7 separate regions of the Homo sapiens genome follow, and all the other regions are linked to region 2. The links are contacts of gene promoters, found by promoter capture Hi-C in blood cells and fetal thymus (Javierre and others, 2016). All regions are on one chromosome and are shown on one strand. The core of a region is centred on a gene start or on the middle of the fragment in contact, and the rest is flanking DNA. Distances in the headings are between cores, read along the strand shown.

Region 1 (3,732 bases), core at 82-2,581, 3.1 Mb before region 2:
CTCAGAAGGCTAACACTGGTGTCTCTTAGGCATTCTCAAGGGGAAAAGAGTGCCAGCCTTTAGACCAGGGTCAGAGACAGCCAATGTCCAGCAGGAGTCAGGATGGGGAGCGTAAAAAGTCCAGTTCTATAAACTGACACTCACATGGAAGACTTGGGCTTAAAACAAAGACTCAGAAGCTTATTCACATAAAATAGGTAAGAGGTGGAAGTGATCTTTTCAGAGAGCAACTGAGAAGCCCATAATTCTCCCCAGAATATCACATCTCAGATGAAAGATGAAGCAGGTACATTGAGGATGCAATTCTGGAGCCTCATGTAGAGTGCTGGGTAACCCCATGCCAGGTCAGGCCAATTGCTAGAGTAAGTCAATGCTAGAGTCAGGGGTGGGATCTAAAGCAGGAATAAATTTAAAGTATTTTCTGCTTCCAATATTAACTCTGGAACCAAATAGGACAGAAATTTCACCTGAGGTGGGAGGGACACAGGAAATATGTGGAAATGGTAGATTTATCAGCTGGAAATGCAAAGACAAGACAAATGAAGAGTCAGGTGGCTGCTGGCATTTGTTTACTGACTAATGATGCCAATAGGAACTCCAGCTCTTTATTTTCATTACACCGTCCTTAACGAGGGTGCTTTTTTCCTCCTGTGTATTTCTTCATGGGCACAAAATTACTGCTGCAGTTTCAGATATCACAGGTCCAGATTATAAGAAAGGTGGGGGTGAATGGGGAATGGTAGAAGGAAGAGCAAAACAGCTATGTTTACAAAGTCTCTCTGAGCCCTCTTCTTTTTGCTTAGGATAGCTTTGGCTATTCTGGGTCTTTAGTGGCTCCATATAAATTTTAGGATTCCTTTTTCTCTTTCTGTGTAGAATGTCATTGGTATTTTGATAGGGATTGTATTAAGTCTGTAGATTGCTTTGGGAAGTATGGACATTTTAACAACCTTGATTCTTCCAATTCATGAACATGGAATATCTTTCCATTTCTTTATGTCCTCTTCAGTTTCTTTCACTAATATTTTATAGTTTTCATTGTAGAGATCTTTCACTTCTTTAATTACTGGGTATTTTATTTGCAGTAATTGTAAATGAGATAAATTTCTTGATTTCTTTTTCAGGTTGTTCCCTGTTGGCATATGGAAATGCTACTGATATTTGCATGTTGATTTTTTATCCTGCAACTTTACTGAATTTATCAGTTCTAATAGTTTTTTGGTGGAGTCTTTTTCCAAATATAAGATACCATCTGTAAACAAGGATAATTTGACTTCTTTCCAATTTGGATGCCCTTTATTCATTTCTCTTGTCTGATTGCTCTAGGTAGGAATTCCGAGCCCTTTTTTCAACTAGGTCCTTGCTTTATTTCAACTAGGTCCCCTGATATCTCAGTCTGATCAAAAAGTCCTCATCACCCATCCTTGATATCTGATCACCCTGGCCTGTCTTCAGCAACAATGCTGTCAGGTCAGTTTAGCAAGAATCCCCCTACCCTTGAGATCTTCTCTGAGTTATTTATTTTCCATCCAATAACCGTTCATCCTTCTCATTGGCTGTAAGTCCCCAGGTGTCTTTACTGTATTCAGAGTTGAGCTTGACAAAGCTCCCCTATTGTGATTGTGTTGGCACCCATTACAATACTCCTGAATAAAGCCTGTCTTACTGTTTTAACTAGTGTCAGGATAATTTTTTTAACAATGTCTCCCTTTTTTATAGGTAAAAATATCCCAAATCCCTAAACAGACACCAGTACATCTCATTTGCCAGAACTGTTGCACAGTTATCTCTAGCTGCATGGTAGGCTAGGATAGTAAACATTTTACTTGGTGAACATATCACTGCCTTGAATAAAATTGGGTTTCTAATAGCAAGCAAAAGAGAGCAGTGGATATTTGGGAGGCAGGTAACAGTGTCAGCCAGAGAGACCAGAATGCCATATAAACTAGTACAAGAGAGGATGGTTAAATGGGCATCTCCAATGTAGGGAAGCCTGAGGTGCTCCAGCAGTGGGAGTAGATAAGAGTTGCTTGGGGAATAATTTGAGATGAAAGTGTGAAAAAGTTGTGAGTATGAACTGTCTGGAAGGGATTGAAAGGAAGAAACAGAATGAGCCAAGGCAGGAAGCAGCTAGGTGTTGGGAATGAAAAGAATCACAGGGGAGGAGTAAGAAGAAATGAAGTTGGAAAAGTTTCAGAAGATGAGAGGTGAAATCAACTCAACAGGGCCACGACTGCTCTTTGAAAAGTACTTCTCATAGTAGAACGATACTAATAACAGTTTCAGAATATTTCATTAAAAATATTAGCTAAAAGGAATTATTAATAATTACCCTCAGTAGATAAAATAAGTATTAACTGAGTGAATCCTATAACCCAAACCCTATTCCAACTACTTTCTTTCCTATCATCCTAATGAGGAAACTGAAGCACACGAAAAGCAGTTTACTCAAAGTCACAGAGCCAGTAAATATCAAAGCTTGGATTATAAACCCACATAGTTCTTATATTCTTTCTTTGTCCCCATATTCTTGATTCTATCTAATGCCTACTGCCTCTCTCCTCTGAAAGGAACAGGAAGAGGTTCCTTGTTCAACAAGACATTCCTCTTTATACTTCATTGAAACAAAGATTGAGTTAACTGTGGAAAAACTAGTAAACTTTCACACATCAGATGCCACTGATTTGGTAGAGATTGCTAACCCCCTAGTATCCATTTTCTCCTTCCTTTTGTACTAGAATCCCTGTATTTTAGCTGGGCTCATGGCAGAGACTATTTCTCAGCTTCCCTTTAAACTGGGAATGGCCACGTGACTAAATTCAGGCCAATAGCAAGTGATCATAAGCGATGTATGCAAATTCTGGGACAACTCATAGCTGCTTGCCCTGCACTAAAGCCTTTTCCCCTCACTGCCAGCTGAAAATGAATTGCAGCTGCGGTCTTGGGCCTAGAGACAGAAGTTACACATTGAAGGCAGAGATAACTAGTTATGTAGCAGAGCCATTTACCCATCCTAGAACCTTTAAATTATCGTGTGTGTGGTAGGGGGAAGGACCTTCTATCAAATTTATTCTACAGTACTTAAGCAGTTTAGAATGAATCCTAACCATTGCATGTAGAATTTGAATTAGAAAATTGATGCAAGGTGTGTCAATAAAATTAAATCATGTTTGCAAGGGCTTCTTTTTGGACTTTTGTGCCAGTAAGCTGTACGTAGAAAATGATAAACCAACACACTTGGTATATTTTTACATATATATGAAAGAATATTTTCAGTGAGTGTTCTGTGCGTTTATGTGCATGCACACGTGCATGCGTTGAAAATACTTAAGAATTACATGATGCCTTAAAAACATTTTTGAAGGCTATATTCTCCCAAAATATCTAAGGCTGATTAGATCAAATTCATGTCTTAAACCATCCAGGCCAAACATGCACATGTAAAAGTGATAGAAAATCAGGCCACGTGCAGTGGCTCACACCTGTAATCCTAGCACTTTGGGAGGCTGAGGCAGGCAGACCACCTGAGATTGGGAGTTCCAGACCAGGCTGACCAACATGGGGAAACCCCATCTCTACTAAAAATACAAAATTAGCTGGGCGTGGTGGCACATGCCTGTAATCCCAGCTACTTGGGAGGCTGAGGCAGGAGAATCACTTAAACCCGGGAGGCAGAGATTATGGTGAGCCGAGATTGCACCACTGCACTCCAGCCTGGGCAACAAGAGCAAA
Region 2 (3,644 bases), core at 382-2,881:
GTAATAATGTATTTAACTTCACAGAAAAAAAAAACATTAAAAAAAAAAGGTGGCGCACCAAGGTAAATAGCCCAGTATATCTAAATTAGTATTATTAATCTCGCTCCAAAAATTCAGCTTTCATTTCAGCAGGTGAGCCAAGGACTGCAAATAGAGAATCTTAATATCACAATACTAATACTGACAATACAATAGAATGTTGTCTTTTTCCCAAATGTAAGATCCCAAATGTTTAACCAGGAAGCATGGCTAAATATTGTTTAAAACTCATGATGAACAGAATTTAAGATTTCTGCTAAAGCTGCCAGAAAAATGAACTTTGATAGTTTGTACTGTGGTTAAGGCAGATTCTTACTTTCACAAACTCAGTAGTTAAAATATTTCTTTTACCTTTAAACCATTAAAGAAATGTTAACTTAGAATTCTTGACAATATGTATTCAATGACTTGAGATTCAAAACGAAGGGATGGATCCTGTTTTTTGAATACGGGACCACCAGAGTCCTTAGTAACCTATAATGCCATAATAAGGCTGACGAAAAACACTACGGTTTGTGGAAATTGCCTGGCTTCCTCTCCAGCGGCCTTTCCTGAGAGTAATTAGCAGGCAGGTAGATTACTTATTTCCAGAGAGTTACTCGTAGTCACGGGTACCAAGAATCAAGAACCACTTCTCGGTTTAAGGAACACAACAGTGTGTCCCATGGACGCTGCGTCAACTGCAGGTTGCTCCCTAGTCAAAGGGCGGATCTAAAACTGACAGGGAGGCGCCTCACTGGTTCAGCAGACGTTATTCCACGGTCTCAAGGTGGACATCTAATGATTTTTTTTTAGCAGACTAGTTTTGTATTGTACAGACTTCTCATCCCCAAGACGGCCCCGCCAGCCAGCAGCCCGTGCCTTATTCCCCAGCCTCGGTGGGCGGCTGGGCTAGACCCTCCAACCTTCACCTAAAGGCGACTGGCACTTTCCCTGCCCGCCCAGGCCCCGCCGCAGAAGCTGCCCGAGACCCGGGCTCTAATCCGGCGCCCGTGAAAGCCGGCGCCACAACCCAAAACACGATTCTGTGATGCGGCTGTCTCCGTTCTTCCATTCTCTCGGCCAAAAACATGCAGCCCATTGTCCCTGCGGCGACCGTGGCGGACACCGAGGCCAAGTCAGCTCACAAAGACAGGCCTGGGCTACGGGGACCCTCCGAACTCCCCTCCCCACGACCCCGGCCTCGTCCCTCACCTGCACCCTCCGACTACTGCTGCTCCTCCACAGAGCTGAGGCGCTGGCGACCCTGACGATCGGCTCGGGTCGGCAGCTTGGGCCCGGCCCCTCACCGCGGCCTCCCGGAGCTGGCACGCACCCTAATCTCGGTCGTACACCGACCTAGCGCTCCTCCTTCCCCGCCGGCGCCCAGTCCCCTCTCAGCCAGCTCCTCACAGGCAGGAGGTAGCCGCTGGCGCCACCACCTCAGAAGACCTACACGAAACGCTTCCCCATTGGCTTCTGCCTCCCCACGTGATCCCGGCGCCCTACGCGCACGTGGAAAACTGTTGTTGCTGCTAGGGCTGTGCGCCACTTCCGGCTTCAACCCCCGAAAAGGCGGTGCTTAAACCGGAGGAGGCGGAAGTGAGTCGACAGACGAGGCGGCTTTCCCGGCAGAATGCTAGCGCAGGCGCAGGGGCTCGAGAGGCCTGGACCTGTGGCGCATCCTCAGTGAGGAGGGCCGCCCTGCATCCGTCGCCGGCCCCGGTCTCCAGGGGCCTCACCCGAGTCATGCCCCGCTATTGCGCAGCGATTTGTTGTAAGAACCGCCGGGGACGAAACAATAAAGACCGGAAGCTGAGTTTTTATCCGTAAGTTGTTTCTGGAGCAGAAGCGTCAGCCTCGCCGTGAGGCCTTGGACCTGTGGCCTTTGGGCTTGGGTGTCTCCTGTCCGCTCTGCCAGTGAGTCCTCAGCTCTCCGTACGTGGCCCGTCGCCCGCGGCAAGACGGAGGGAAGGCGCTAGTTCAGTTTAGCTAGCAATGCCCTTCTTGCGCGAGGACTGCTGGCTGGTGGCGAGGCCCAGGAGCCTGTTTGGGTGTTAACAGTTAAAACAGTAAAGTTTGCGCGGGCTTCTGTGGTTTTCAGTCTTTTCCCCACTTCACGTGATCTCATTTCATTGAACAACATTAACCACCATTTAAGATACGTGAAACCTGCGAAGTGGAAAGGTGCACGCAAAGTTAATTTACACCCCCCGCGAGGTAGGTCGCATAGGTATAATTTCATCCCACTTTTCTCCTGAGGAAACTGAGGCCCGGAATGATTAGGTAACCGACCTTGAAAGTTTAGTGTCAGAGCCAGAATTATAAACTAGTCTTCTGCTTAGGGCTGTAGATACTCTGCGGAGAACAAGGTTTTATTCTGTTACTCTGAATTACTAGAGCCACGATATATTTCCATCAAACTACTGAAGCACTGATTTTTATTCAGAAGTACAGACAAGCAGTGTCGTATAATAATTAGGGGTCCAGGCTTCAATGCTAGATCCTGGTTCCACTATTCTGTAGCTTAATGACCTCTTGGAAAGTATTTAAGCTTTGGTGTCTCACATATCTCATCTGTAACATGGAGATGTTAATAGTACTCACATGATTAATAACACATGAAAAGCAACATATTTAAAATACTGCATTTCCATTTTTTCTTGTATTTAAAAACAATTCATTTAGATCTAACCTGGTTCAGATTTTCAGCAGTTGTTTTGTGCTCATTTTACTTTAGACCTGAAGGACTTATTCATTAATGATTCGGCTGCTTTCCAGTATTTTAATTAATGGAAAAAAAATTGATAACCCCACCAGGCGCGGTGGCTCACGCCTGTAATCCCAGCACTTTGGGAGGCTGAGGCGGGCAGATCACCTGAGGTCGGCAGTCTGAGACCAGCCTGACCAACATGGAGAAACCCCGTCTGTACTAAAAATACAAAATTAGCTGCGCGTGGCGGCGCATGCCTGTGATCTCAGCTGCTCGGGAGGCTGAGGCAGGTGAATCGCTTGAACCTGGGAGGTGGAGGTTGAGGTGAGCCGAGATCACACCATTGCACCACAGCCTGAGCAACAAGAGCGAAACTCCGTCTCAAAAGAAAAAAAAACTGATAACCCCAAGTAATTCACAATCCATGGCAATATTTCCAGGATTGTCTCCCTTGAAGCCCAGCCTCAAGATGCAAAGAGATGTTTGGGGGAGGAAAACAATCTAATCCACTTTCAGTTTATAGGGAAATACTACTGTACTAATGGCTCTATCTCTGAGAATGTTTGTAGCAAAAGATCATGTTGAACTTGATTTAACCCCGTATTTCCCAGATTTATTTGGCCTTTGATATTGGAGATGGGGTATAACCCCACACTGAAATTTTTAACTAAACTTTGTGGACCTTACAGTAACTTTTTAGGAAGGAAAAAATAATGCAAGTGAATTGTAAAGATTTTTTTCACTGAAAATGTGAATTTAGTAAAAGTTGTATTATTTCTAGGGTTTTTAAAAAATTTTCTTGTGTAATCCACAAAATAAAAATTGAATTAGTTTTATTCTCCAGTAGCGTCAAACTTGAATTGAATTTGCTCATGTTAACACTACAGCAAACTGTAGTTTAAATGTATATGAA
Region 3 (3,951 bases), core at 1,392-3,891, 3.0 Mb after region 2:
AAATTAAAAGATTTTTCACATGCTGTGAGAATCAGGAGGTGGTACTGACCTTTTCCCCCTTTCCTGTTCAGTGCAAGATCCAGAACCCAAGCTATACATTGTGCCTTCCCAGAGCAATTTTAAATTGACAATTTAGAGGGTAGGAGAGGCAATATTAACATAACACTATGCCTCAATTTTCCAACTAGAAAACAAATTGTAACATTTGCCCCAGCCTATATCTCAAGGTTATAAATGGGACTATATAATACAAATTATATATTAATTATACTATATAATTATATATAATATTAACGTATAATAATCTACTATTATGTACAGAACTCACAATGCCTTTTTTAAATCTTAAATAAAACAAGTGATTTGTGTGGTGTATCTGCAGATAAATGGAGGCAGGAAATGTTTTGTGAATGCTAAAGTTGCTGTATCTTAGGGAGGAAATTCTACCTTCATTTTTTAAAAAAAATTACACCCACTGAGCACAGTGGCTCATGCCTATAATCCCAGCACTTTGGAAGGCCGAGGACGGTGGATTGCCTGAGGTCAGGAGTTCAAGACCAGCCTAACCAAAATGGTGAAACCCTGCCTCTACTAAAAATACAAAAATTAGCCGGGTGTTTGGCGGGCACCAGTAATCCCAGCTACTGAGGAGGCCGAGGCAGGGGAATTACTTGAACTCAGAGGCGGAGCTTGCAGTAAGGCGAGATCGCGCCACTGCACTCCAGCCTGAGAGACAGAGTGAGACTAAGTCTCAAAAAAAAAAAAAATTACACCCTTGATGTGTAACCATTCAAATGTGGCATAGTACATTCTTAGTGAAATGACATTCTTCAAAATGACACACCGGTGGTTTGGGAGGTTTTTATGTGTCTCCTTTTCTATTTTTTGTAAAGAGCACTCCTAACTGCAAAGCAGTTTGAGCTGTGGAAAGAGGAACAAGGTCAAAGTCCTTGATATGATAGTCTACATCTATTATTTTATTAAAATGACAGCTCAGTAGGCATCAGACTACTTTCCAGGCATCTGAATGAGGCAAAGGTGGAAAATGGAAAGGGAAGGGTTTAACTGAGAGATACAAGGCACTCTGAAATCCTTCAAGAAAAAGGAGCTGAGATGTGGCAGTTATGACAGTCATGTGCTATGGACTGCTCAGAGCCTTCTTTCTGAGGCAGATTCTATCAGCCGCTAATGTTAAGGGCAAATCTTACTCCTAAGGGCCATGTGCTAATGTGGGCACCGTTTTTCTTACTGCTACACATTCCCAACTGTTTGCCACAGTCAAAAGAACCAAAAATCCCAATAGCAGAGCTATCACATGCTTTTCCCCTTCCTCTCCCAAAAAATGTCACTTCAAAGGTCCCTAAAGAGCCCTTGATTTGCAATAACCTGCCATCAAAGTAAAATGGCAAAAGTCCACAACCCTGACATATACTCCCGTACTAGGGAGGAAATGGTGGTACTGACCTTTTCCCCCTTTCCTGTCCAGTCCAAGATCCAGAACCCAAGTTATCCGTTGTGCTCTTGCCAGAGCAATTTTAAATTGCCAATTTACTGAAGGTGAACTAAACAACTGTCATTTGCCTCCTTTGAACCCAATTAGGGTGGTGGTCGTCTGTCCTAGATCATGGGCCCCTCCAAATTCCTGATGCTTAGTAAGTTGATGTTTCATTAAAATGACAGGCAGGCCCCAATTATTCTGAGTACTGTATGATAGGCAGACTTCCAGCGAAAACACTCTAGTCCCTGTACTAGGTATGGATCGGGAAGTGCTCTTCTCCAAAGCATCCCATATTTTACAATTTTAGAAAGACAAAAATATGTGTATCATGGTCATCAGTATTACCATATAAGCATATTGTGCAGAAAACGGTACTGCATCTAAAAGATAGGCAAAGAACCTTTCTATATTGCAGACCCTGGAAGGCTGAGTTTGGGCGGGAAGAAAAAGCTAAGGTGTTTGGAGCTGGCTTACTTTTCTCCTCGAGGTTCTTCCTTTCGTCACCACTTTCAGAGCAGCACTAGAAGAAGAACAGATGTGACAAGCACATTAAGATTAAAGTCGTGGATGGAAAGCATACGGGGCTCCCAAAGGGCACCCACTGGAGGCAAGAGAGGTTCCAGACGCTCTCCCACTTTCTGAGCGACCAGGGCCGTCCGAATCAGGTACCTCAAAGTGCCACTGTCCTGGTGCCACCGCCACCTTCCCAGGAGGTGTGTGTCACCTCCGCAGGACCTGGAGTTACCTTGCCTGCTCACTAGAGCCACCTCCCTAGAGAAATCTGTCATCTCACCAGGGCCGCCAAAGCCACTTCACGGGGACTACCGCCTCCTCTAGGAGGTCTTACAAGGGCCTCTAATCTAAGCCGCAGGAAGCACCTTCACAAGCTTACAGGGCCACCGCACCGGGACTATCTCCCCCGGGAGGTCTGTGCCACCTCAATGGGCCACCAATGTCCCCTCCCAGGGACGCCAGGGCCGTCTCACCGGGGCTGCAGGAGAGGCGCCGATCTCGCCGGCTGGTAGCATCTCGCCTCCGCGCGAGTCCTCGGCTCCATTCGCAGCCAGCGTGGCCTGTGGAGTCTGGCTAAGGCCAGCGACACACTCACTACCCAGCCTCGGAGGCCGTAGGACTGAGTGCCACAGCGACTTCCTCTCGATGTCTCACTGGTTTCTTCCTCTCAGCCCAGAGAGGCCCTGCCCGTGCAGCCGCCGGCCGTGCTCTGTTCCTCCCCCTCCTGACCGGAGGTCGGAACGGCCACTCAGGAAGCGGGCACCCTCCCCTATGGAGCTCCAGAGAAGGGATTCGCTCACTCCACCGCGGTAAAAGTCCCCTCCACTTTATTGAAGCTCTTAATGATGGAACTTTAAGATATCCCTCTCCCAACGCCTTAAATTCAATATGAATAATTTAAATTTATATTTTAGGCAATATCCAGATGTTCTGAGAGTGTGGGGGGCTTGTTGACTAGGAGCTTCGGTGCAGGGTTATTTGGTTCGAATATTTAGTTGGGGGTTTCCAATGAATGTCAGTATCTTTAGATATTTCTTTTAACGTTGGTCAGAGTCCCTAGAGATGAGCTTCTGATTTCCTGCCTAGAGGGTGTAGAGGTGGTTATAAGCGTTCTGGGAGCTGAATGAAGAGAACAGAGCATCTAACATGTGTTTCGCCCAAAACCCTGTCTTTTACCAGGGAGGAGGAAAGGGAGCTACCTAGCAGCAAGGGTTGTGTAGAGGACCTGTGGACTTGACAGCCTCTTAAACAAACTAACACGGAAGGAGTACCATAGAGACCATAACAAACAAGGGGGGGGGAAAGCAACCCTCAGAGGAAAAAGAAACCACACGGTGAGAAGAAAAATCAAATACATGTGCACAGAGATATATAATCGAGCTACAAATTACTATTGCAAGCATAAAACAAGGATGGCTGGGCGCTGTGGCTCACGCCTGTAATCCCAGCACTTTGGGAGGCCGAGGCAGGCAGATTACGAGGTCAGGAGATCGAGACCATCCTGGCTAACATGGTGAAACCCCGTCTCTACTAAAAATACAAAAAATTAGCCAGGCGTGGTGGTGGGCGCCTGTAGTCCCAGCTACTCAGGAGGCTGAGGCAGGAGAATGGCGTGAACCCGGGAGGTGGAGCGTGCAGTGAGCAGAGACCGCACCACTGCACTCTAGCCTGGACGACAGAGCAAGACTCCGTCTCATTTAAAAAAAAAAAAAAAAACAAGGATACTATTTTTTAAATTACCTATTATGGGAACATAATCGTATATATTTATAGTGTACATGTGTGTTTGTTTTTTTTTTGCTCAGGCTGGGGTGCAATGGCGTTATCTCTGCTCGCAGCAACCTCCGCCTCCCAGGTTCAAGCGATTCGCCTGCCTCAGCCTCCCAAGTAGCTGGGATTACAGGCATGCACCACCACGCCCGTCTAATTTTGTATTTTTA
Region 4 (3,693 bases), core at 760-3,259, 3.2 Mb before region 2:
AAAAATTTTTAATCAAGACAAACATTTATAGTTTAGAATCCATAAATGATTTTTTAAAAATCCAACTAAAGATTACGAGAATATTTTCATACCACATCCTGCCCATCAGAAAACAATGTGCCTCTTTCTAAATACTGTATACCCAGAATCTAACCACTCCTCAGCGCCCCCACCGATAGCGCCACCTAGTGCCTGATTACTGCAGTAGCCTCCTAAAAGATTTGCTTTCCCCCTTATCCCTGTAGTCTCCTCTGTACATGGCAGCCAGTGACCTTTTTAAACTTAAGTTATAGCATACAAAAATAGAGAAAATGTATAATGATATAATGAGCCTGACTTACCCATCATTGCTTCAACAGCCATCAAGCCAATTTTGTTTCATCTACATGTCTACCTGCTCCCTCTCAACTGGACTATTTTTGAAGTAAATCTCAGATGTCATATCACTTCATCTACAAATATTTTAGTATTCATATTTATTTTTAAAAACCTGAAATATTGTCACATTAAAAATTAACAATAATTACTTGATCATAAAATGTACAGTGTTCATTCCACACTTTACCAAGTCTTTTATTCTGCATTTTAGACCAGCCTGGGCAATGTAGTAAGACACCGTCTAAACAGAAAATTTAAAAAATTAGTCAGCATGGTGGCATATGTCTGCAGTCCTAGCAACCTCCTACTCCAGAAGTTGAGGCCAGAAGATCACTGGAGCCCAGGAGTTTGAGGTTACAGTGAACTATGATCATACCACTGTACTCTAGCCTCGGTGACAGTCTCAACCCTCTTTTTTAAAAAAAAAAAATTATATATTTTTAGGCCAGGCATGGCGGCTCATACCTGTAATCCCAACACTTTGGGAGGCCAGGGCAGGCAGATCACTTGAGGTCAGGAGTTCAAGACCAGCCTGGCCAATATGGCAAAACCCTGTCGCTACAAAAAATACAAAAAGTAGCTGGGCATGGTGGATCACGCCTGTAATCCCAGCTTCTCAGGAGGCTGAAGCAGGAGAATTGCTTGAACCCAGAAGGTGGAGGTTGCAGTGAGCCAAGATTGCACCACTGCACTCCAGCCTGGGCAACAGAACAAGTGAGACTGTCTCAAAACAGAAAAAAAAAAAATATTTTTACTCTATTATTCGAATCCAGATTTAAATAAGGGCCATGCATTGCAATTGATTGAAATGTCTTCTAAGTCTCTTTCAATCTGTAAGTTTCCCCTTGCATCACTTTCCTTATTTTTTTATTGAAGAAACTAAAGACTGTTTATCCTGAAATGTTTCCGTATGTGTGGATTCTGCAGACTGCATCCCAGTGAAGTCATATAACATGTTTCTCTGTCACCTGTATTCCTTGTAAATTGGTAGTTAGAACTAGAGACTTGATAAAATGTTTGCTTTTATTTTCACAAGACTACTTCATACTTGGTGTTATGTGCTACTGGTTGTCGTGTGTGTGTGTGATGTTGGCAGCCACTGGTGATCATTGACCAGATCCATTAATCTTTTATGGGTTGCAAAATGGTGATATTTTATTTCATGTTTATTTACTCATTGGAATACTCTGTAAAGAGAAATGTCCTCTCACTAAATATTTGATTACCCTGAGGTACAGGAAAGATAATGCTGTATTCTACAAAAGCGACTGGAGGGGTTTTTGTTTGGTTGGTTTTTGGATCATTAGTAACTCATGGATATAAGTATATTTGTTTTGTTTTAATCCATGGCAGTTATTAAATTTAAAAATGTTCCATCTTTGCCTGTTGGGAGCATCTTCAAAATGGCTCCTGAGTCTGTTTTCACAGTATCCAAGTAGTGTTTGTTACTGAGCTAACACACAGGATCTGATTGTCAAGTTCGATGCAGGACTCAGCGACCCCTCCCAGCATCAAGCTTTACTAGTAATTTCAAGGCAGGCAGGATGCTCAGATAAAGCAGCGAGATTTCTGAGACATTACACATCGTCTGCTAGGTCCTTCTTCCCCACATCAGTAATAATTCAGAATTATAGGTGGAGTCCCTGAGGTTCACAGGGTTCCTCATTCAGAAGCACGTTTAAATTATGAAGTGTCGATTATGAAACATTCCATTTTCTACTCCAGAGAGTTAGTTGTAAAGCTTCTCAGGGACATTCTGTAATCATGCCTCATGGATTCTGGTTTATTTATTTACTTAAAGAAATCCTTTGACTGGGGACTTTAGGGCATTCTGTAGATAACATCTCTTCCTCCTAGCAATTACTTTTAGTCTGTTTACTTGAAGGTTCAATTGACAAAGAGATAAGACATAGTCACCTGTCTTTTCTGTCCCTTAAGGACATTCCCCAGTAAAGAAAATGAATGGATCACAGGCCAGATACTTTCATGTTTTCCTCCCATCCTTACCTTTACCATCCTTCCTGGTAAGACGAGGTGGTCTAGGATCACTTGAACATCTCCTGCCCCAGACCTGAAAGCAGCTATTTCTCCAATGACTCCTTATTCATTTTAGTGGTGAACAATATTTAGAGATTGTAATCTGAAGGATAGAGGAAAGTAATTCTTGGTGAACACTCTATCACATATCTTTGCACACTTCTTTGACCGTCCCCTTATATTTCCCTAGAAGTGAATTAATCAAAAGTATCCCCACTGTAACCACTGATTCATGGCTCAGCAATGGGATATATCGTTTACACCCTGTCTAGAGGGGATAACTAGTCTTAGGAATACTTATTTCCCCAGCATCTTCTCCAACACTAAGTGTTGTATATTTTAATCTTTCCAAATAATAGACCAAAATTATACTGGGGTTGGATGTTTTGTTTCAGCATTTTTTGAATGCTAAGTGAAGATATGTTTTCATATATTGATGAACTCTATACCAATCATATCCTTTGCCCCTTTTCTTCAGTATTTGGCAAATATTAACATTTTATCTATCCTTCATGTTGGAAATATTTTCCAAGTCGTTTGTATTTTGCCTGTGTTTATTATGTCTTGTTTTATTTACTTTTAGAAAATTTGATTTTTAATAGCATTTGAATTTATAAAGATGAAGATTGCTTTTTTCTTATAGCCAAAAGCACATAAAACCTACTATTGTAACCATTTTTATGTGTGCAGTATGGTAGTGTTAACTATATATACATTGTTGTGCAACAGATGTCTAGAAGTTTTTCATCTTGGAAAACTCAAACTCGATATTCACTGAACAGAAGTTCTCCTCTCCCCTTTCCCCTAGACCCTGGGAACCACCATTCTATGTTCTAAGATGTTTTGCTTACTTTTTAACTTTCAGTTACTCAGAGCTCTCAGACTTTTCCTTTATGGTTTAGGTTTTGTGTACATAAAACAAAGGTTTAGTGTTACAAATAATCTGAAAGTAAATACCCGTTTTCCACCATTCAGGTAAAGAAACAGAACATTGCCAGCAGTATCCTGCAGGCCTCCTGTGCACCTCTTCTCAATTATAGCTCCATCTTCACCATAAAAGTAGTCACTATCCTGACTTCTATGGTATCCATTCCCTTGCTTAGTGTATCACCTATTTGCCTCTCTAAACAAGTCGATTTGGTTTTACCTGGTTTTGAACGTTATATAACATACTACTTGTGTTCTATTGAGACATATTTGACTCAGTGTTGTGTGTAATATTTTTCCATGTTATTGCATGTGATTGAAGTTTGTTTCATTGCTGTATACTATTCCATT
Region 5 (4,132 bases), core at 951-3,450, 3.2 Mb before region 2:
ATTATGACATTATAGGAAAAATTATTATAGTCCTTTATCAGTGACAATTCTGGTTCCTATTCTTGATCTATTGGGCTATATTTACAATTCAGGAAAAGGAGAGACCTGCAGAATGGCAAGTATCCTGTCAAATACACTATCTGCCAACCATACTTAAATCCATAGGTCACCTTTTCCACTTATGTGTATATGGAAAATCACCCCTTGTTTCTGCAGGAAATCCAACCATGCCAAGCATGTAATGATATCAGTATTCTTTACAGAAGATTTGTGGGGCCATCTGGGGCAAGGCAGTCATATCACACAGCCTGCAACGGTTCTTTCTCTCTCACACACACAAATACACCCACACACCCACACACTCCCCCCACTCCTCATGCAGCACTTCCACCCTCTCCAATCCCTACCCTGTTATTAGATTTTTTCTTTTTCTTTTTTTTTTTTTTTTTGGTCTTCACTCAGCTCCTCTCTGGCTTCTTTGCCCCTTGTAAATTCTGCCTCCACTCTGAACCCCCTCCTCACCAGTTTCGATTTTTCAGCCCTTTATTATCCCAAAGAATTTGCCATTTTTTATTTCCTAAGCCTGCCCTTTGGGGGATGCTCATAGTCCCCAAGGAACTTACTAGTGAACTCTCTCAGCAAACAAAGGCCTGTCTCCCCACATCTTTGAACCAGCAACAGCATGATATCCTTACACATTTTGATTATACTGTAGCATACAGACATTTTAGGGAAGACAAAAACAAAAGACAAAAACAGAAACGAAAATACAGGAAACAAAAGATGAAATACAGATCTGATTAGTCCAAGTCCATCATCCAGGGGAAGTCCTCGTTCATTACCCTACTGCTGCATATATTCTGGATATTTTTCTGCTATATCACGAAATTTAGAAAATAGTATTTTTTTTCCCCAGTTTGTCGGAAACTGGCCACATTTGAGGGAATGTGGCTTGGGGTCCTGTCTCAATCATTGTCTTCTCACGTGACTTGCAGAAGCTGCATATACCCTCCTCTTATATGACGAGCTACTGGAATGGTCTGATCGGCCCCTCAGGGAGTTCCTGACCTACCCCATGCAAACAGAATGGCAGCGCAAAGAGCACCTGCACCTCACCATCATCCAGAACTTTGACAGAGGCAAAGTAAGTGGCCCTGCCCCGCCCGGGGTCCCTCCTGGGGTGATGGTGTTGATGTCCCTTTCCCTTTCATTTCTAGTTTATGAATGCCCACCTCCTTAAGCAGGGATCCTCACATCTTAATGTATATTAGAAACACCCAAAAGCTTGTTAAAATGCAGATTCCTAGGTGCCACTCCTAGCCATTCTGATTCATTTTGATTCTGAATGAGCCATTCTGATTCGTGCCTTGTCTGGCATGAGGCTGGGGAATCTGTGATTTTAACAAGGACCCTAGGAGAGTCCAATGTGCATGACCTTTTCATTACACTTTGATAAACACCGATTTAGAGATTTTGATCCCCAGTAACATAGTCCATTCGTGGCGGCTTTAGCAAAATACCCTAGACTGGGTAGCTTATAAACAACAGAAATTTATTTTTCACATTTCTGAAGGCTGAGAAGTTCAAGATCAAGGCCCTGGCAGATACAGTGTCTGGTGAGGGCCATCTTGCTGTATCTTCACATGGTGAAAGGGGCTGGCTAACTCTCTGGGGCCTCTTTTATAAGGGCACTAATGCCATTCGTGAGGGCTCTACCCTCATGACCTAATCACTTCCAAAGACCCCATTTCCTAATACCATTACCCTGGGGGTTAGGATTTCAACATATGAATTTGTCAGAGACCCAAACATGCAGACCATAGCACGCAGATATTGTATTCTCTGAAAAACCATTATCATCCTTCACACTCTCCCGAAATTGGCATGCATTCTGCTCCATTATACTTTAAGGTAAAATATATGAAACTTAATTTGTTTAAAGAATTTTGTGGCATCCCATCATATACTTAAGAGATGCCTTGAGGTGTTGAAAAAACCTCACTGACTTCATAAAGCAATTCAGTACATCACCTCCCTCCACTTCCTACCCCTCTTCAAGGGCTTGTAGTACTCTTTTAAAAAATTCATGAATCTGACCGCCATTGTTTATTGGATTTGAACACTTGGATGCTTTGGTGGTACATGTCTTAGACTCAAATTTATCTTCCAGATTGCAAAGGTTAAACAGAAAATTAAAATACAACCAATGGCTGTAATTCTTTTACAAAATATAATTGGGTACACGTAAAAATTTGATGCAAGGAAGTTGCTTCTTCCACATCTTCCTTTATTATTTATCTAGGTACACTGACATATCATTACATGAATACCAAAAGAAATGTTTTTGTGCCCTCCTGCTGTAAAGTTTCCACCTGTGGGATAAAGTGGTGCAAACTCTCTGAATTCATTTATTGGTCCATCCCCGGGAGTCTGTGCTAGATCAGGGGTTGCAAACTATGGTCCACAGGTCAAATGGCTCACTGTCTGTTTCTGTACAGCCCCAAAGCTACAAATCTCTTTTACGTTTTTAAATGGTTGAAAGAAATCAAAGGAATCATAACATTTTGGGACATGTGAAAATGATATGAAATGCACATTTTAGTGTCCCTAAATTCTTATTGGAACACAGCCATGCTTAATTGTGTCTATGGCTGCTTTGGTGCTATAACAGCAGAATTGAGTACAGCAGAGTTGTGACAAAAACTAAATGGTCCTCAAAGACTAAAGTTTTGACTTTCTGGCCCTTTGCAGAAAATGTTTGCTGACACCTATACTAGATTAAAGAATTTTTACATTTCTGCTGAGAGTAACCAACTTGGTTAGACCTCTCACAATTTGCAAGCACAACTAAGCCAAGCAAGGAATCCAGGGTACCAGTCACAGATAATTGGGCCTTAGGGGTCAGTGGTAATTCTCTCCTCTGCACTGAGGGCCTGTTTATATCCATCTACTCGGCCATTGTGGAACTGTAGTCATTTCAAGATGATTCTGGAATGACACCAGAAAATATAGTTCATGTACAATATATTAATGACTGTTGTGGTAGATTATCGTTTCCAGCATTCAAAGGATTTTTAATAATTTACATTTCAATTACATGGTGTTTTCAAGCTTGAAGTCTCAAGGTGTTTTATAAAGATTAAGAAGTGGACGGGCGCGGTGGCTCATGCCTGTAACCCCAGCACTTTGGGAGGCCGAGGCGGGTGGATCATGGGGTCAGGAGATCAAGACCATTCTGGCCAACATGGTGAAACCCCATCTCTACTAAAAATACAAGAATTAGCTGGGTGTGGTGGTGCGTGCCTGTAATCCCAGCTACTCAGGAGGCTGAAGCAGGAGAATCGCTTGAACTAGGGAGGCGGAGGTTGCAGTGAGCCAAGATGAGGCCACTGCGCTCCAGCCTGGTGACAGAGTGAGACTCCATCTCAAAAAAAAAAAAAAAAAAGATTAAGGAGTAAGGCTTGGTGCTCTGAAAGCACTCATGTTCTGACTTTTGGGTAGAAGTAAGTGGATATTGTCAGATGGTTCCATTGATCTCATTCATTTGTCCACAGTGTTGGGAGAATGGCATTATCTTGTGCCGGAAGATTGCAGAGCAGTATGAGAGTTATTATGACTACAGAAACCTGAGCAAGATGCGGGTAAGGTGCCTGGATGCATCCTGATCAGGCCATAGCCTCCCTTTGTGATTAGCTTTCCAGTGTGGTTCTATGAAATTAACTTTGTGGTCTTGCAGAAACCCTTTTTAAGATAAATCCTCTGAAGCATACTTAGCTATTTATATAGAGAAATAGCAAATTGATTTGTGTAATGCTTTTATTTAATATAAAAAAGTGAGCACTTGATCTGTTTTAAATACCACATATGAAATATACAATCTAATCCAGGATTAACACTTTTAGTTTATTGTGGAAAATCTCCACCCTGTTTGAAGAGTTTCCACTTACACATAAGTTTCTGTAACAATATACCATTCTTAGTCCCATAATCTGCAAATCTGTAGGAATGGCTGACCTATTTCTAAATAATTTAGGGCCAAATTCTGTAGGTGTCACCTCTCTTTAGCTTCAGCAATGTGTTTTTATTTGCTGGACTTAGATCAACGTTTCAGTACCTAAGAGCTCAAGGAGTT
Region 6 (4,047 bases), core at 100-2,599, 3.0 Mb before region 2:
AACTCAGGAAGTTGTAAAAAATTGACTGACAGTAAAATGCAAATTATTCTTTTCCATAGACATGCTAATGAATTTTATCATAGAGATATAATTGATTTCCTCTCTGTAGAAAAGATGATTCCAAACATTACAATTTAGTACCTATAGGATCTATTAATTTGCACATATTAGCACATTTACTTCAACATTCCTGCTTGCCTACATATGACTGTTTCTATTCTTTTTTGAATAGCTTGTAATATCTTACAGGGTCCTTCATTAATTAATGAGTTAAATAAAAATTTTCACATATGCTCTTTTAATATTTGTATTTTGTCATTTTGAAAATCATCTTTTAACAAGTTTATTATCCTCAATAGGTATTATGTACTCAGTTCTCTCATCAGCTTAGGTAAACCTATAATATAAACAAAAGTTTACCTTTGAACAAATTAAATTTTTTCCAAATAGAAAGAAAGTCAACATTTACTAGGTTTTGCCTGCTTGCTTATTAATAAAATATATGCTGATTAATTTTAAAAAGCATTATTTAATGTTCCCTTACCTCCTCTCTACCCTCTAAATTCTAATTGTCTGTTGCTTATTCAATCTAGGGCTCATTTCCTTTTTGACAAGATTACTAGGCTGATAGATAAAGGAAATGTTATAGACACAGTATATCTGGACTTAAACATTGTATTTATCCTAGGTTGGATAGTTTTCTGTATAATAGGATAAGTGCCAACTGGGTAAAACTGCAAATAATTCTGGCCCTGCCCGGTTGAACATTTTATTAACGACTGTTATGCCTATTGTGGGGCTGACTTAGATTAATTTTTGTGGAACACATTCTGTTTGTCAGGCACTTTTACTATATCATTTAATTTATGATTATTATCTTTATCCTGTATGTACTCAAGGGCCAAATTAAGATCAGTGATTAAAAGTTATAGAGAAAATCATTTCACTGAATATAAGAATAACTTCTTAGTGGTTAGAACTCTCTGAAAATGGAATAGTAAATTTCATGAAACAGAATATAACAGAATGATTAAGAACATAAAGTTTAGTGTCAGGTAGACCTTCATCTGTGTGCTCCAGGTTCACCATACAGTAGCTTCTTGAGCTTGGGGAAATTCCTTCTTTGTTTCCTCATCTGTGAAATTAGGATATTAGTAGTACCTACCTCATAATGTTTTTGTGAGAAGTAAAGGAGATAACATTTTAAAGTGCTTTTAGCACATAGTAAGCCTTCAACAAGTGAGAACTTAAAAAAATACTATTATTATTATTATTATTATTTTGTTTGTGGTTTATGGAGAATGAGAAACACATGGAGCAGAATCACCCCAGATGAGCTCAGCCTACCCTTAGCTAATCTGTAGATGCTTGAACAATAATAAATGTTTTAAACCACTGAGTTTTGGGAATGGCTTGTTATAGAGCAATAGCTTACCGATACATCAAGGTCCCTTTCACCTCCAAAATTTCATAATACTGTGGGATTATGCTATACATGTTGCCTCTTATTTGAAAGGTGAATTACAGGCACTTCTCAACCATGAAGTAAAGAGTAAAATGTATCTATTTCTCATCACTGATGCTTGCCTAAGTTTCCACTTACGAGAGAATTGCTGTCTCAAGAAGCAATACAGGATTACTAATCATCTTTCTCATTTCTTCTACAATTCTTTCACATATTATCTCTCAGAAGGATAGATGTTTTCTGGCTTGTTACTACAAAAAAGTCTAAGTCTACATCACAAGTATAAAATGACTTATCAATTAATTTAAAAAGCATTGCTTGGTGTTTTCAAGGTATTCAAATATATATTCTTAAGCATTTAAACATTAATCTTTTATGAACTGTTCCCGACATTGCTAATGGATGAGTAGGAGAAAGAGAGTTCTAATAGCCTCATTCATGTCTTCAGAAGTCTAGGAGTCCCCAGTTTATTTAAAATTCTGGTTAATTTTAGTTACTCATGCTCAAGGATACTCTCTGAGCATCATGTCCAATTTACTTTCAGTTTTTGAATTTACTCCTAGTTGTGTACAAGAAATGCAATTAGCAATTCTTGTTTATTTGGGACTGATTATCCAAATTACTATTTCCCTTTCTATTTTGCTTAATTTCAAAGCTCCTTTACAGAAATTAAACAGGCCCATAAAAGGAGATAAAAACTCAAATCACACAGTTTTTATTTTATTATGTGGTGAAAAGTATTAAAATGTTTTTGATATCATTTTCAATTAACTATGAATTTTATCAGTAATTCATTCCTCTGCCCCATCTTAGCATAGTAGTGTTTAAGATATGTTTACAAAGTTTAAGGCAATAGTAAGGTTTAATTAGGTAACCAGTTATTTTGAAAGAACCAGGTTGTTTAATTGAATTCAGCCTTTTCTTTTTTGAAATAGGTTTTTCAGTTTGGTGAAATAGCAAATTATTGAGATTGTGAAGGGCTTATGTTGGCCTTTCTATAATAACCTTAGGTATCCCCATCCATTATTAATTCAAGAATTAAAATTAATCCTTGGGACAAAGGAATAAATCCTATATTGAGTAGTGAGATGTGCAGATTCTTCTTAAAGTTCTGATATTCAGCTCTTCTATGGTCTTGGACAACTTTTCCAATATTAATGCAAAAAGACACTTATTGGGATGTCCACTGATTCTGTCTTCTCTGGGAACTGTTCTTCCTGTTCACAGGGGTAGACCTCTGACAATCAGGTTTGCTCTACAAGGCCCCTACCCACTGGTTTAGCTCATTAGAATATAGGCAAGTTCTTAGTTGTAAACAACATAAAATCATTCTGGTATATTTGAGGAAAAAAAACATTATTAGAAGAGTTTAGGAACGCTCACAGAATCAATGAGAAGAACTGAAGATTGGGCTTGGAAAGAAATGAGCAATAATTAAGGGAGGCCATAACTCAGGACATTTAAAATTATGCTGCAGAAAGAACCTGGTTAGGACATGACTGCTGTCTTTGCCGAGCAGTCACCACTGTATCATCAGATGCTGGAAGCCACTACTGCCACCAGAACCAGAAGCCACTGCCATTGGTGCCACAGCCATAGAAAAATTCCAAATTGTGTGTATCACTTGATAAAGTTCCAGGCAAAAACATCATATTGGTGGGACTTGGGTCACATGTCTTTGTTTTAGGAACCAAAAGGTGGGGAGATGAAATATCTGCTCACCTAACTGAAGATTCTTTATAATTAGAAAGATGTTTTGATATTGAACACACACCACTGATGAAGGTTCACTATAAGGACAAACTGGTCAACCAGATTTTCTCCCTGGACATATCTGAAAAAAAACCAACAATGGTTTTGGCATACTACCCTTGGTTTCTCAAAGAAAAGACATATGAAGTTGGAAGCTGCTGAGTGACCATGATCTTACCTGGTATGTGGAAAGAGAAACAGAGAAAGCCTAACTTCAGAGAAAATAAATAAATAAAGCAAACATGCAGAGAGAAGAAGATATGAGAGATGAAGAAAGATCTGGTAACTTTTCTATCTCTTTCTTAGGCCTGAGTGCCCTTCTGAATTCTTAAATTCTTTTCTTGCTTAGGCTGGCTCGATACAGTTTCTGTTGCATACAGCTTAAGGCAACAGAGAATCTTATTTAATATACAAAGTGCTACCTGTGATAGGGTTCGGAGTAACAGATTCTTAATCAGAAAATATAAAATGAGTGAAGTTAAGGCAGGTGTCAGATTGGGAGGAGCCTCACACTCCCACCTACCACCCCAATCTTAGGATAGAAACTTACAGTCTTTCTGCAATATTGAAGTAAGTAGGAAAACCTGCTCATTGTCTCTTACATCTCAGATCATTCTCCACCAAGCCATGGGGGGCCTTGGTAGAAAATATTAGTATATATCTATTTTTTGTAGCTGTCAGTATAAGGTGCAGAAGAAAAAAACCAACTTAGATTTGCTTGACTGGAAGCACAGAGAGAAAATCTGAGCTTCTAAATAGATTGCTGGCCGGGTGCAGTGGCTCACGCCTGTAATCCCAGCACTTTGGGAGGCCAAGGCGGGCGGATCACT
Region 7 (4,041 bases), core at 1,153-3,652, 3.2 Mb before region 2:
TTCTTATGTCATCATCTGTGGTCACTGTTGTGGGGCTCTGTAACTGTCTTTCTTTCTTACAGCCTTTCAGTAGTTGTGAGTTGCAAACCTCACTGTGACAGCTGGGAGAGTAGCAGCTAATCACAGAGCGACATACCCAGAGTTCACCGAAACGTCTCTGTGGAATTGAGAAATGTGGCTGACTCTCACCCTGTTGACTGTGTCACGCCAGCCTTTACCATACAGGGCTATGCTTTAGAGAGCTGGATTTGCTATACAAGCATGCACACAGGAACAGTGCTATCACACATGCTGTGTTCCAGGTGTAGGACTTGAAAATCTAGTGAGAAAAAGCAAACAGTTCACTCTTCTTGGCCACGATGATGAAATCCATAGAGACCCACCACCAGGGGATAATGGGAAGACCTGAGTACAAGCATTAGGGGAAGAAATGGAAAACCATGCACCTGTTGTATGGCCATGGCCAAGGGTTTTCTACCTATTTGGGGAGTACTGGGGTTGTTTGGGGGGAGCTGATTAAATATGTTCCCGTAGACCTGTTCCAGGCTGCTGGGGTGGCCATGGTGTTCCCATTGGTGCTCACGCCAAAGTCAACAGCTGTTCCCCAAGAACTGCTCCCTAGCATCTCACACCTAAAAGCACCTTATGAGACAGATCAAGCAGTGCAGAAGCACCTGGACTTTGGGGAAACGGAAAGGACATTGGATCAGTTTGGGAACCTGTCAATAGTCAAAGCATCATATATGCCATGATAACTTTTCACTGATGCTCCCATATCTTGGCAGTGCCACCCTTTGTGAGAACCCATTCTAGACAGGCATCATTTAGCTTCTCCCCCATCCTCACCACCCCCTTTGCTTAGAAGGTCCTTATGCACTGGATCATCTGTTTGGGTTTGTAACACAGAGGGCATGTGCAGATAGTCAATCGTCTGGTTTTTCTTAATTGAAATGTTATCTCTCTCCCCATTGACAGCTTCACCAGCAAGACACACGACATCAGTATCCCCCTCGCCTGCCGGGCGATCTCCATTGAAGGTAAAGGCCCTTCTTTCGACTGAGGCTAGAGACTGGCCCAGTTTTCTTTTTCTCTAAGACTCATCCCAGATATATCAAAAGGTGCTTTAATTTGCAGGGACCAGGCAAAGAACTTATCAATCAGGGATAGGGGAAGCTGGTTGAGAAAAACAACACTGGACTTTCCCTTCTGGGTGCCTCCTGCACAAACGCAGCCATTTGTTTTTCGATTATTAGCCTCATTCTCCAAATGGTAGCAGTGAGAACTTGCAGACTGAAGTCAGTGCATATACTGAATTAGGAAAGGAATGTGGTCCTAATGTACCTCCTAGGAAACTTTCAGCCTGGCCTTTTAGTTTAAGGTACATCAAACACACACACACACACTTAGATTGAGAAACATCAGTATCAAGATCTACTAAATATTCTGTGTCTTTTTGCCTTTATCGTCAGCCAAACCCATTTTGTCAAAGCCAAACCTAACATTCTCTGTTAATATTTTATACCAAGTTTCTCATTTACATTAGAAATACATACTTGATCATGAAAAACAAGGCAGTAATATGGATTTAAAAGATTTCTAGGGAACAAACTGGAAAGCTGTAAAGGTCAGACATTCGAATTGGTTTGTAGACATGGGCTATTTAACATCTTTAAACATAAAAAATCCCTCATGAAGATAAAGAATAATATTTAGTCTTATCCAAATTGAATCAGACCGGCTTCAAGGATTGTCAGTACGTGAGAGATTGGTGTTCAGAACTGCTGCACCAGAGGCAAATATGAAGTGTGTCGAAAGAATGATTTTGTACCTGAGTGACTTAGGATTTACACGCTCCATGTCCTTTGTGTGATGAGCTAGTTCTAGCTAATGTGCAAAAGACAAATTAGCCTCTACAAACACATAGGGGCAGGTTGCGATCCAGTGCATCTGTGGTGCTAACGATAGTTGCTGATAGAAATTGAGAAACGGGAAAACAACCCGCCTCCCCCCGCAAAATGGAGAAAATTGAAAGAAGTGTGATTCCCTTGCATTGCCAGAATTTCTGACGTAGAAATTCGCGGGTAAGTGCAAGTGATTTGCTCGTTTTGTTCTCATTCTGTAATGCAGCTGTTATTATGAAGTACCTGTGACAGCATTCACTCTGGAAGTCATAGCCTGTCACCTCGATGTGATAGAAAGGAAAGCAACATGGCTTTTCCGCACTTTTACATTTGCCCTTACTCACACAGAGCTCCCACACGTTGCTATGGAATTATCATCTGTATTTTTCAACTTAAATTTTGTTGGGTAGTAAGAAAATAAGTCTTAAGAGATTAATTCTTAAACATTAAAAAGAACCCAAGAGCTAAAAATGTTTGAATAGCTATAAAATAGTCTTAGCAAGCTGGTATATACTGTCTCTCAGCAGACCTGTGTACATTTTTACTGGCCATATGCAGTTCGAAGCCATGTCTTTATATGTAGGGTTTGAAGGAAGAGAACATAGATCGAACATTTGTGTTATACCTCCTGGGTTACATTAGGGGGCACACTGCTACCATGTTACTAGCCTTGCAGTGTGCTGCCTTAACTGATAAGAGTTTAGTGGGGTTTTGGGTTTTTTTTTTACCCCAGCCAGCCATCAAACTGTGGGTCTAACCCTACAGCGAAGACTGAGCTGACCTGCCATATTTTGAATTTCAGGTCTAACTTTTGACAGAGGTAGCAGTGAATTGGGAACTCTTAATTGGCCTTAATGTTAGGCTCCTACTAAATGACAGGATGTGTATCTACCAGCGTTATTTTGTTTACAAAGAGAAACCAAAGTCAAGTTAGCTTAAGAAGATAGCATTTCTCAAAGTGTATACCATAGAACACTAGTTTTCCAGGACATTATGTAATAAGCGGGGGAGAAAAGGTCTATAGTCAAGTAAGTTTGGAAAACACTGGACTGAACAAAATTATTTGTATTCCTTTATTCTAAGCCTTGAAAATGCGAATATGTTTTGAATATACACAAGGAGTATACAGTGTGCAGCATTTCCCAGCGGAACCCTCTTTTCACAGAGCATCTATCTTAGGACTCGTTTTCCTTGGGATACTAGTTGGGAAAGTAACAAACTCAGATGCCAAATGGGGCCAGACAGCTGACACAAATGAAGGAGGCCGGGTGTAGTCCCCACGTGGCATAGTGGGGACTGGCAAAGTGAAAAGGGACAGCCCTTCTCAGCTTTTAAAGATTATCTCTATTAAGAGAATGTGTGCCATTGTGGCCAGAACTCCTAGTTCTTTATGAACTGCCAGAATTCTGGAGTTTCATGTGAAATTTGAAATGTTAAAAATTAACTAAATTAGGTTTTTAAAAAACTGCTGAGGAAACAGCTCACATCACAGGCTACAGCCCCGAGGGCTGCCAGTTCGCCAGTTCAGCTCAGGAGTCTGGAGTCTGGAGTGATGGCTGGAGAAATCAGGTGCAGAACCTCGGGTGCCTCTGCTCCTCCTCCTGAGCTCTCTGGGTCTTCTGAGCTGAGTGTGCTCAGCGGCCCTGGCTCCTGGCCTGCAGCATGCCCTGCTGAGCTGGGAAAGTGAATAGCGCCCCCAAAGGTTTTATGGCGTTTTTAGGTTTTTGGGGTTTTTGGCCAGTTCCCTCTCTTCCAAACTATAGGACTAATGTGTGCCTCCAGATTATCTTGGTGGATACCTTTATTTATTTTTTGAGACAGGGTCTCATTGTGTTGCCCAGGCTGGAGTGCACTGGTGGCTCCACGGCTCACTGCAGTCTCAACCTCCCAAGGTTCAGGTGATCCTCCCAGAGGAACTGGGATTACAGGCATGAGCCACCACGCCCAGCTAACCCTTTGGATTTTTAGTAGAAATGGGGTTTTGCCATGTTGCCCAGGCTGGTCTCAAGCTCCTGGCCTCAAGTGATCCCTGCATCGGCCTTCTAAAGTATTGGGATTACAGGCGTGAGCCACCATGCCCAGCTCCTTTCTCCTCTATCTGAAAATGATAAGGAGTAAACTGGGCGGTGAACTGAACTCG

Evidence for each region. Contacts are between HindIII fragments. The CHiCAGO score rates a contact against its expected background, and 5 or more counts as called.
Region 1: a contact is called between a fragment that was not itself captured here and the fragment with the promoter of THAP5 in region 2, in 1 of 17 cell types (M2 macrophages). The highest score is 7.7, in M2 macrophages.
Region 3: the fragment with the promoter of RINT1 here is called in contact with the fragment with the promoter of THAP5 in region 2 in 1 of 17 cell types (non-activated CD4 T cells); the score reaches 6.3 in non-activated CD4 T cells.
Region 4: a contact is called between a fragment that was not itself captured here and the fragment with the promoter of THAP5 in region 2, in 11 of 17 cell types (M2 macrophages, fetal thymus, M0 macrophages and 8 more). The highest score is 24.7, in M2 macrophages.
Region 5: a fragment that was not itself captured here is called in contact with the fragment with the promoter of THAP5 in region 2 in 3 of 17 cell types (M2 macrophages, M0 macrophages and activated CD4 T cells); the score reaches 11.4 in M2 macrophages.
Region 6: a contact is called between a fragment that was not itself captured here and the fragment with the promoter of THAP5 in region 2, in 1 of 17 cell types (M2 macrophages). The highest score is 5.8, in M2 macrophages.
Region 7: a contact is called between a fragment that was not itself captured here and the fragment with the promoter of THAP5 in region 2, in 13 of 17 cell types (M2 macrophages, total CD4 T cells, fetal thymus and 10 more). The highest score is 27.9, in M2 macrophages.

Annotation. Positions count from the first base shown.
Region 1 is chr7:111,707,374-111,711,105 of GRCh38, reverse strand. No RefSeq gene overlaps it. Among named protein-coding and RNA genes, the nearest start is that of DOCK4-AS1, 99 kb to the left of the region's middle. The HindIII fragment of the contact is 2,299 bases long and covers 182-2,480 here.
Region 2 is chr7:108,567,693-108,571,336 of GRCh38, reverse strand. It overlaps THAP5 (THAP domain containing 5), which reads left to right and starts at 1,631. Exons shown (of 3, transcript NM_001130475.3): 1 at 1,631-1,847. The coding sequence starts at 1,768. It overlaps DNAJB9 (DnaJ heat shock protein family (Hsp40) member B9), which reads right to left and starts at 1,463. Exons shown (of 3, transcript NM_012328.3): 1 at 1,234-1,463. RefSeq lists enhancers at 1,308-2,035, 1,569-2,048. The HindIII fragment of the contact is 6,219 bases long and covers 1-2,574 here.
Region 3 is chr7:105,530,891-105,534,841 of GRCh38, reverse strand. RINT1 (RAD50 interactor 1) reads right to left here and starts at 2,641. Exons shown (of 15, transcript NM_021930.6): 1 at 2,485-2,641; 2 at 1,973-2,018. The coding sequence starts at 2,526. RefSeq lists enhancers at 1,869-2,445, 2,291-2,470, 2,561-2,860, 2,446-3,023, 3,311-3,360. The HindIII fragment of the contact is 4,822 bases long and covers 2,388-3,951 here.
Region 4 is chr7:111,748,873-111,752,565 of GRCh38, reverse strand. The region is part of intron 42 of DOCK4 (dedicator of cytokinesis 4); the gene reads left to right. Among named protein-coding and RNA genes, the nearest start is that of DOCK4-AS1, 58 kb to the left of the region's middle. The HindIII fragment of the contact is 225 bases long and covers 1,897-2,121 here.
Region 5 is chr7:111,766,541-111,770,672 of GRCh38, reverse strand. It overlaps DOCK4 (dedicator of cytokinesis 4), which reads left to right. Exons shown (of 53, transcript NM_001363540.2): 37 at 996-1,144; 38 at 3,555-3,641. It overlaps LOC124901726 (a long non-coding RNA gene), which reads right to left. Exons shown (of 2, transcript XR_007060478.1): 2 at 3,799-4,132. Among named protein-coding and RNA genes, the nearest start is that of DOCK4-AS1, 40 kb to the left of the region's middle. The HindIII fragment of the contact is 1,827 bases long and covers 1,287-3,113 here.
Region 6 is chr7:111,589,466-111,593,512 of GRCh38, reverse strand. No RefSeq gene overlaps it. Among named protein-coding and RNA genes, the nearest start is that of IMMP2L, 29 kb to the right of the region's middle. The HindIII fragment of the contact is 7,955 bases long and covers 1-4,047 here.
Region 7 is chr7:111,729,222-111,733,262 of GRCh38, reverse strand. It overlaps DOCK4 (dedicator of cytokinesis 4), which reads left to right. Exons shown (of 53, transcript NM_001363540.2): 52 at 976-1,037. Among named protein-coding and RNA genes, the nearest start is that of DOCK4-AS1, 77 kb to the left of the region's middle. The HindIII fragment of the contact is 5,943 bases long and covers 1-4,041 here.